Linked DNA regions of Homo sapiens: region 1 is linked to region 2. Evidence: promoter capture Hi-C in 16 types of primary human blood cells and fetal thymus (Javierre and others, 2016). All regions are on one chromosome and are shown on one strand. Each heading gives the region's core, a stretch centred on a gene start or on the middle of the fragment in contact. The rest is flanking DNA. Distances are from core to core; before and after follow the strand shown. Region 1 overlaps BCAS3 (BCAS3 microtubule associated cell migration factor). Region 2 holds the start of TBX2 (T-box transcription factor 2).

Region 1 (3,559 bases), core at 626-3,125, 330 kb before region 2:
CAGCCTGGTAACATTAGAAAGAATTACTTGTCACAAAGCTTTTCAATACTATATGTAGACTGACTAAAATCAAGAGACTTACTGATTTCTTTGTATGAAAGTTGTGTGACGCTGGCAGGTCATATCTGTAAAACAGAAGCCACCTAAGGTCATTTCCAAACACTTAACCACCTTTGACTAAAACAACAACAACAACAACTACAACAAAAACTAAGAAAAGTATTAAATACTGGTAAGCTGAACATTTTAGATCTGTCCCTTTAACTTATGCATATACTGGCTTGATATGTCCCCCAACATCAGCCATGGAAAACAGAGCCTGGCTCTTCTGCTATAATGGCCATTTATACTGAAATTTGAGGTTATAGTGAAGAATTTAGAAGGATAACAAGTGGACAAAAAAAGTAAATCCTATGAAAATGATAGTACCTTTCTATTTTAAATTTCCTAATAATTTATAGCTAACTTAATCTCATAATAACCATGCTTATTTCAGAATTTTCTTGTCTAGATTTTAGAAATGGCAATAAGTAACTAATTATTTTCCTCCTAAGCTCTCAAATGAAAACCAGTTTTTCATATTTTTTCCTTTTAAAGAATAATGTAGATTCTCCAAACTTTTACTACTGATCTATTTTAGAGGAATGGCAGTGAGTCTACTCCTGTATAATGCAGCTCTCAAATTTTAATGTGTAATAAAATCACCTAGGGATCTTGTTGAAATGCAGATTGTAATTCAGTAGGGCTGGGTGGGTGGAGCCTGAAGTTATTTATTTCTAACAAGCTCTGCGAGGGATGTCAATGTTAATGGTCTGAGGACCACATTTGGAGGAACAGCGTTCTGGCTTGGTGGTATACTGTTGGGACTGTTCTAAGGTATTCCATACTACATATTGTAATTCCTAAAACTGTATAGAGAATCCAATACTAAATATAATAGGAAGACCAACAGATTTTAATAAATATATTACATTACCAATTATTATGAACAGTAATATATCTAGTTGTATGTTTAACACCACAGTGCCAATTAATGATTAATTTATTGTGAAAAAAATATGTTCTCTTATTGCACTCTTCTTTCAGACTTTTCAAAATTATTTGGATTATAGTTAGCTTCTAATTATAAGCTTTTCCTGTTTTGATGTTTGTGCTTTTACCCAATTTAGTAATAAAAATGTATCAAACATGGAAAAAATGGTGAGGCAGAGGAAGGATATTTATTTGATAATGAAAAATATTATCCCACCAGATTTATTTTTTATATTGCCCATCTTCTGATGGCTTCCAAGTATGCTTAATTAGAAAACTATTTTTGGTGAAAAAAGGGGATGGAAATTCTTATAATCTCTTTAGGATTTTGGGGTGCATATTTATGGTACTATTTCTAGATGTATATTTGGAATCTTTATTACTTCCTTTGGAAAGTTAATGAGGGCAGAGAGGATCTTTCTCCCTTCTCACTGTGGAAAATTCCAAACATACACAAAACTAGAAAATAATAGTATAGTGAGCCTCCATGTACCTATCAGCCAGCTATAACAATGATCAACTAATGACCAATCCTGTTTTCATCTGTAATTCTACCTCCCACCTTCATCCCTGCACTGGGTTATTTTGAAGCTAATCCCAGACATTATAATATATTATCCCTATTTTGATGATGGATAAATAAGTGTCCAGCCATTCTAGTGCCGTTACTTACTTAGTACAGAATCCAAAACTCCAACCACCCAGTAAATACTTATTGAGTACTTGTTCTGTGACACGTACTAGTCTAGGCTCAGCATATATAAAACACAACATAAACTTTTGGAGAAATTCACATTAGGTACTAGCTAGTTACGTAAGGCATGGTTACTCACTTCTACTTAAAAATTGCTAATTGCTTTCCATCATATTACTCGAGCTTTATTACCAAAAAAAAAAAAAAAAAAGAAGAAAGGAAAAGCCCACAGTAATCTGCTGGTCCTACTTCCTTTGCCTTACTGACTTAACCTTCCACTCACAACATGGCTTATCCCACCCAACCACAGTGGCCTCCTAGCTGTTACTTATTCCCTTTATGTTTACATCTCAAAATCTTTGTACTTAACATTCCCTTGGTCACACCTCTCCTTCAGATATTTGCATAACATATTACCTCACCTCTTTAAAATCTTCTCTGCCCTCATCTGCTTTCCAGCCTCTACATATTTTCCATATTCACATTTTTCACTAGTATTTAAGGGGTGGGAATTTCAAGGATCCTCTTGTTCTCTTCTGTATTAAGAATTAATATAGAATTTAGTGGTGGGAAGATAACTTAGCCTTTTGAAAATATCATTACTTATCAGCCTTTCAATGTATATCAATTATTTCCAAAAGAATGCTGAAATAATAGTTATTGTGATATTCTTTTCTTCTTGATATAATTTGTCATCACAAGAATGTAGGTGTATGCTTTTGTGATCATTTGTGTTTTGTACAAATGCCACCATGCCGCTTGGCTGTAGAACTATGATTTTGAAGAACTAGCAGCTAAAAGTTTTGATTACTGCAGATCTTACACTTTAATACTGTGTATGCCTCTGCTGAGTAATTCACTGAATTAGCATTTCTCCTCTTGCAGCAAGTTAAGATAAGCTTTTTGTGAGTCTGTGTCTTTTAAAATCTTGCCCTAGGTTATGCTTTGTCTACTTTATTTGTATCTGTTTCACTAAGATACAGTTTTTCAAAATACTACCTTGTTCTAGCAAGAGCTCAGTGAGGTTGGCATTCTCTTTCACTGCTTGGGTAAGTGTATAACTCTTTCTGGGAACATATATTAAGAAATTTATATATTTACATCCTCTGATTTCATATGTAGGAATCTAACTCAAGGAAATTTTTGTATGTTGATGTGTATATATAAATGTCTTTTGGTGGTAGAAATTATGAGGGTTTTCAGCTTCTCATTCTTTTCTATTTCTTCCACACTTCTTTAATGATCATCTCTTACTTTCTTACTTTTCTTTCTACTTACCTCCCCTCTTTTTCTCTGTTCCTCCCAGTACTTCATTGCTTGATTTCTCTGAGTATTAAAATGGTAGGCCAGGCGTGGTGGTTCATGCCTGTAATCCCAGCACTCTGAGAGCCAAAGCCAGAGGATCACTTGAGGCCAGGAGTTTGACACCAGCCTGGTCAACATTGTGAGATCCTGTCTCTACAAGGAAGAAAATATTGGGCAGGCATTGGTAGCTCATGCCTGTAGTCTCAGCTACTTATTAGACTGAGGTGAGAAGATGGTTTGAGCCCAGAAGTTTGAGGTTACAGTGAGCTATGATCATGCCACTGTAATCCAGCATGTGTAACACAGCAAGATCCTATCTCTTAAGAAAAAAAAAAAAAAAAAAAGATTAAATACAATCATGTATGAGGTTGGGGGGTTATATGGGAAATATCCGTATCTTTAGCTCAACTTTGCTGTGAACCTAAAACTGCTGTTAAAAAAAAAAAGAAGAAAAAAAGAAAAAAATACCTTTAGAGACATGGAGACAGACAGAGTGAGTGAGTCGTAGCTTCCAAAGAAGAGACTAAG
Region 2 (3,467 bases), core at 322-2,821:
TGGGGTCGGCCCCGAAAAGTAGGGATAACGGTCGCAGAGGCCATACTGCTTCCGCCGGTCCCGAATCCGCACTGCCAGGAGAGATCCGGCCTTCAAACGCTGCTCCCAACGTTCAACAACGAAGTGCCCTGCGACCGGTGTGCGCAGTGGGCGGGCGCCTGCATGGGTCAATGTTGGATGTACGCGCCCACCACGCGGTTGTACGGGTGGGAATGTCACCCGTGGCTAGTGCATGCTCTGTCTTTTCCTTCAGAAAACGACCTTCAGGAATCAGCCTGAGTGTTCGCGCCCGAGCCCGATTGGAAGCAGGTGCGTGGTCGCTTCACTCTCCCCGTGCACACCTTGAGTTATAGCTCTCGCTGCGCACAGAGGGCACCACACGGGGCCCGACACACACACACACACACACACACACACACACACACACACACACACCATCACTTCATGGGGGGGAAACTGAGGCTGCCGGAAGACAGAAAACGAAGACTGATCACAGAAGAGGGGGCTTCAATCACAGGTGCTCGCAGACACCCCAACTCCCTCACGCGTTACTCAGCACTCCTTAACTTAGGAGACGTGCGCTTCCGAGAGATGAGAAGAAACTAAAAAAGTGGTTGGCAGGGCGAAGAGAGGAAGCCGGTATTTCGGAAGAAGGAGACTTTCGTCTCCGGTACCGGATAGGGCGAAAATTCGTTGGGTCGCGGGTGGAGAATCCGGGGTCCGCCCGCGCGGTGCCGCCCTGTGCTCAGCGAAAGGTGCGCTCACCTTCCTGGCCCCGAGGATCCGCTCCTCCCGGCCGCTGGAAAGCTCAGGGCGGGGCCCGGGCCTGCGGAGAACTCCAGGTTCCTTCCGAGTCTTCCGGTGAAGGCGGGCGCGGGTAGGGGGTCCCCGCGTTTCCCCAGCGCAAGGCCGCGTCCCGCTCCCGCCCGCGCCGGCCCCAGCAGGGCTCGGCCATGGCTCCACTCACCAGCTCCCGCCACCTGGGATCCGCTCCCGGACCTCGGCCGCCCGAGCCTCCCGACTCGCCCGCCCACCGGCCTCGCTTTCCAGTGCCTGCTGTCTCTTTCCGGGGCGCAGGGACCCCCAGGCGGCGCCACGACCCGGAGCTGGGTCGGAGGCCAGGCTGGGGCTCGGGCCAGAGCGGCCGGGCCTCTGGGCGCGGGAGAAGGAGGGCGCCCCCTCTCCGCTCGGGGTCGTGTCAATGCTTTGCACTTGGGGCCGGCGTGCGGCTGCGGGTCCTTCCCCAAGGCCCCGGGACCCGGGCTCCCCTCGCCTCAGGCCCTTTCGGCGGGTCAGGTCGGCCCTCCGCGCTCTCCAGTCCGGCGCAGGCAGCCGCAGGCGCGGGCGGGCGGTGGGGGCCGGGGCAGGAGGAGGGGTCTCGGGGCCCGGCGGCCCGTCATTGGTTAATATTTTATTCTGTTGACATGTTTTCTTACTGCTGAGGCTTCCGACACCTTCTCCCAGGCCCCCCCTCCCGGCCGGAGCTTGGCCTGAGCTGTCAAAACCCCGCCCCCGGAGACCCACAATTGGTCCAAAAAGCGTAAAATCAGCAATCAAGGGGGGCCTGGCTCGTTAGCGCAGGGGATCCGAGCTGGGCAGGACATGTGAGATAGTCACAGTTTTCCAGAGATCACGACAAGATCTAACCAGTCGCGCGTGGTCCCCGGCGCCGGAGCGGGCCAGCTCAGCCCGGCCCAGCCCGGCCCCGCGCAGAGCCCCCGCCGCCCCCGCGCACAGAGCCGGGTGCCCCTTGCGGTGCGCCGGACGGGAAGCCCCGAGGAGCAGCTGCTGCGCCCGCCACCCGGGTCGTCCGTCCACCGCGCGCGCCGCCGCCCGGGCCGGGGGTCCGAGCCGCGCGCCCCCGGCCCCGGCCCCGGCCCCCGGGCGCCTGGGCCGGATGTCCCGATGAGAGAGCCGGCGCTGGCGGCCAGCGCCATGGCTTACCACCCGTTCCACGCGCCACGGCCCGCCGACTTCCCCATGTCCGCCTTTCTGGCGGCGGCGCAGCCCTCCTTCTTCCCGGCACTCGCGCTGCCGCCCGGCGCGCTGGCCAAGCCGCTGCCCGACCCGGGCCTGGCGGGGGCGGCGGCCGCGGCGGCGGCGGCGGCAGCAGCGGCCGAGGCGGGGCTGCACGTCTCGGCACTGGGCCCGCACCCGCCCGCCGCGCATCTGCGCTCCCTCAAGAGCCTGGAGCCCGAGGACGAGGTGGAGGACGACCCCAAGGTGACGCTGGAGGCCAAGGAGCTGTGGGACCAGTTCCACAAGCTAGGCACGGAGATGGTCATCACCAAGTCCGGGAGGTAGGGCTGCCGGCCGGCTGGAAGGCGCGCGGGCGGGCGGGCGGGCTGGGGCACGGGACTGCACGGATCAGAGCAGAGCTGGGGACTCCCGGCTCCCGGCTCCCGGCTCCAGGTTCTGGCCCTGACGCCACGCTTCGCTCCCACGGACAACCAAGTTGACTTTTCTCGTTTGGCACCGGAGCGATTTTTTTTTAAAACAAAAACGCTAAAATCCTCCGAATGAAATAAAACGAAAACATACTGCTAAAGAATAGCCCCAACCGTTCTGAGTCCCAGCGCAGAGGAGGCCCCGCGGCTTGGCCCTGGCGGTCTCCTCCGCCCCGCGCTCTCGCTCTTCTGCGTCCGGGTCCGTCTCCGAGCTCGGGGGAAATTCAGCCTCTCTCAGACTCTGCTCCGACCCCGAAGCCCCTAGTGGGACCTGGGCCCAGCTAACCCCACGCTGGTTGCTCGGTTCCTGGCAGCGAGCCCCGGGTCAGCCGAGCCCTCCGCCTCACCGGGCTGGGAGCCCTTTCTCCACCGCGGGCATCCGAGCCCTGGACGCATCCGCCGCCCCAGGCCTTAAAGCCTGAAGAAAGCCACAGCCCCGGCCCCTCCACCCTTCGACTCAGCCACCGAGAATCCAGGCCTCGGGTTCACCCTCTTCCCCCGAACTGCACGGCCAGGATGTCTTATCAGGCTCTGTAGCCCAGTTCCCAATACAAACACCCTCCAGATTTATTTCTGGGAGCTTCCGTCCCAAGTGGGTATTTCCCCTGAACGAATTTCGGGGAGATTAAGGAGAAGCGAGAATATTTCTAGAGGGCCTAGACTTCTCTCCTGGGCATCAGCTTTCATCTCAGATCAGGGAGAAAGAGGGTCCCCAGATCTGAGCACAAGGCCTAAAGGAGGCTGTTTAGGAGAGGGTCTGACAGGCAGAAATGGGATCTCCTGGGAGCAACAACCACAGGTGGGGTCGTCCGGGCAGTGATGAGAGGGCAGAGCAGCCGACCACAGGGGAAACAGCCAGGCGGCAGCGGTGTGCGCAACGAGGAGGGATAAATAAAGGAGGAGTGGGGTCCTGGAACCTAGAACAGCCGGTTCCAATGGGATCTCCTCCCTTCCCTCCCTCCCAGGCGGATGTTCCCCCCCTTCAAGGTGCGAGTCAGCGGCCTGGACAAGAAGGCCAAG

The links. Contacts are between HindIII fragments. The CHiCAGO score rates a contact against its expected background, and 5 or more counts as called.
Region 1: a fragment that was not itself captured here is called in contact with the fragment with the promoter of TBX2 in region 2 in 2 of 17 cell types (megakaryocytes and total CD4 T cells); the score reaches 6.1 in megakaryocytes.

The regions. Positions count from the first base shown.
Region 1 is chr17:61,070,758-61,074,316 of GRCh38, forward strand. All of the region lies in intron 19 of BCAS3 (BCAS3 microtubule associated cell migration factor), which reads left to right. It overlaps BCAS3-AS1 (BCAS3 antisense RNA 1), which reads right to left. Exons shown (of 6, transcript NR_186507.1): 3 at 83-125. Among named protein-coding and RNA genes, the nearest start is that of BCAS3-AS1, 63 kb to the right of the region's middle. The HindIII fragment of the contact is 1,495 bases long and covers 1,129-2,623 here.
Region 2 is chr17:61,398,272-61,401,738 of GRCh38, forward strand. TBX2 (T-box transcription factor 2) reads left to right here and starts at 1,572. Exons shown (of 7, transcript NM_005994.4): 1 at 1,572-2,300; 2 at 3,413-3,467. The coding sequence starts at 1,906. TBX2-AS1 (TBX2 antisense RNA 1) reads right to left here and starts at 1,335. Exons shown (of 2, transcript NR_125751.1): 1 at 968-1,335. RefSeq lists promoters at 529-1,789, 1,409-1,656 and a cis regulatory region at 1,645-1,656. The HindIII fragment of the contact is 11,976 bases long and covers 1-3,467 here.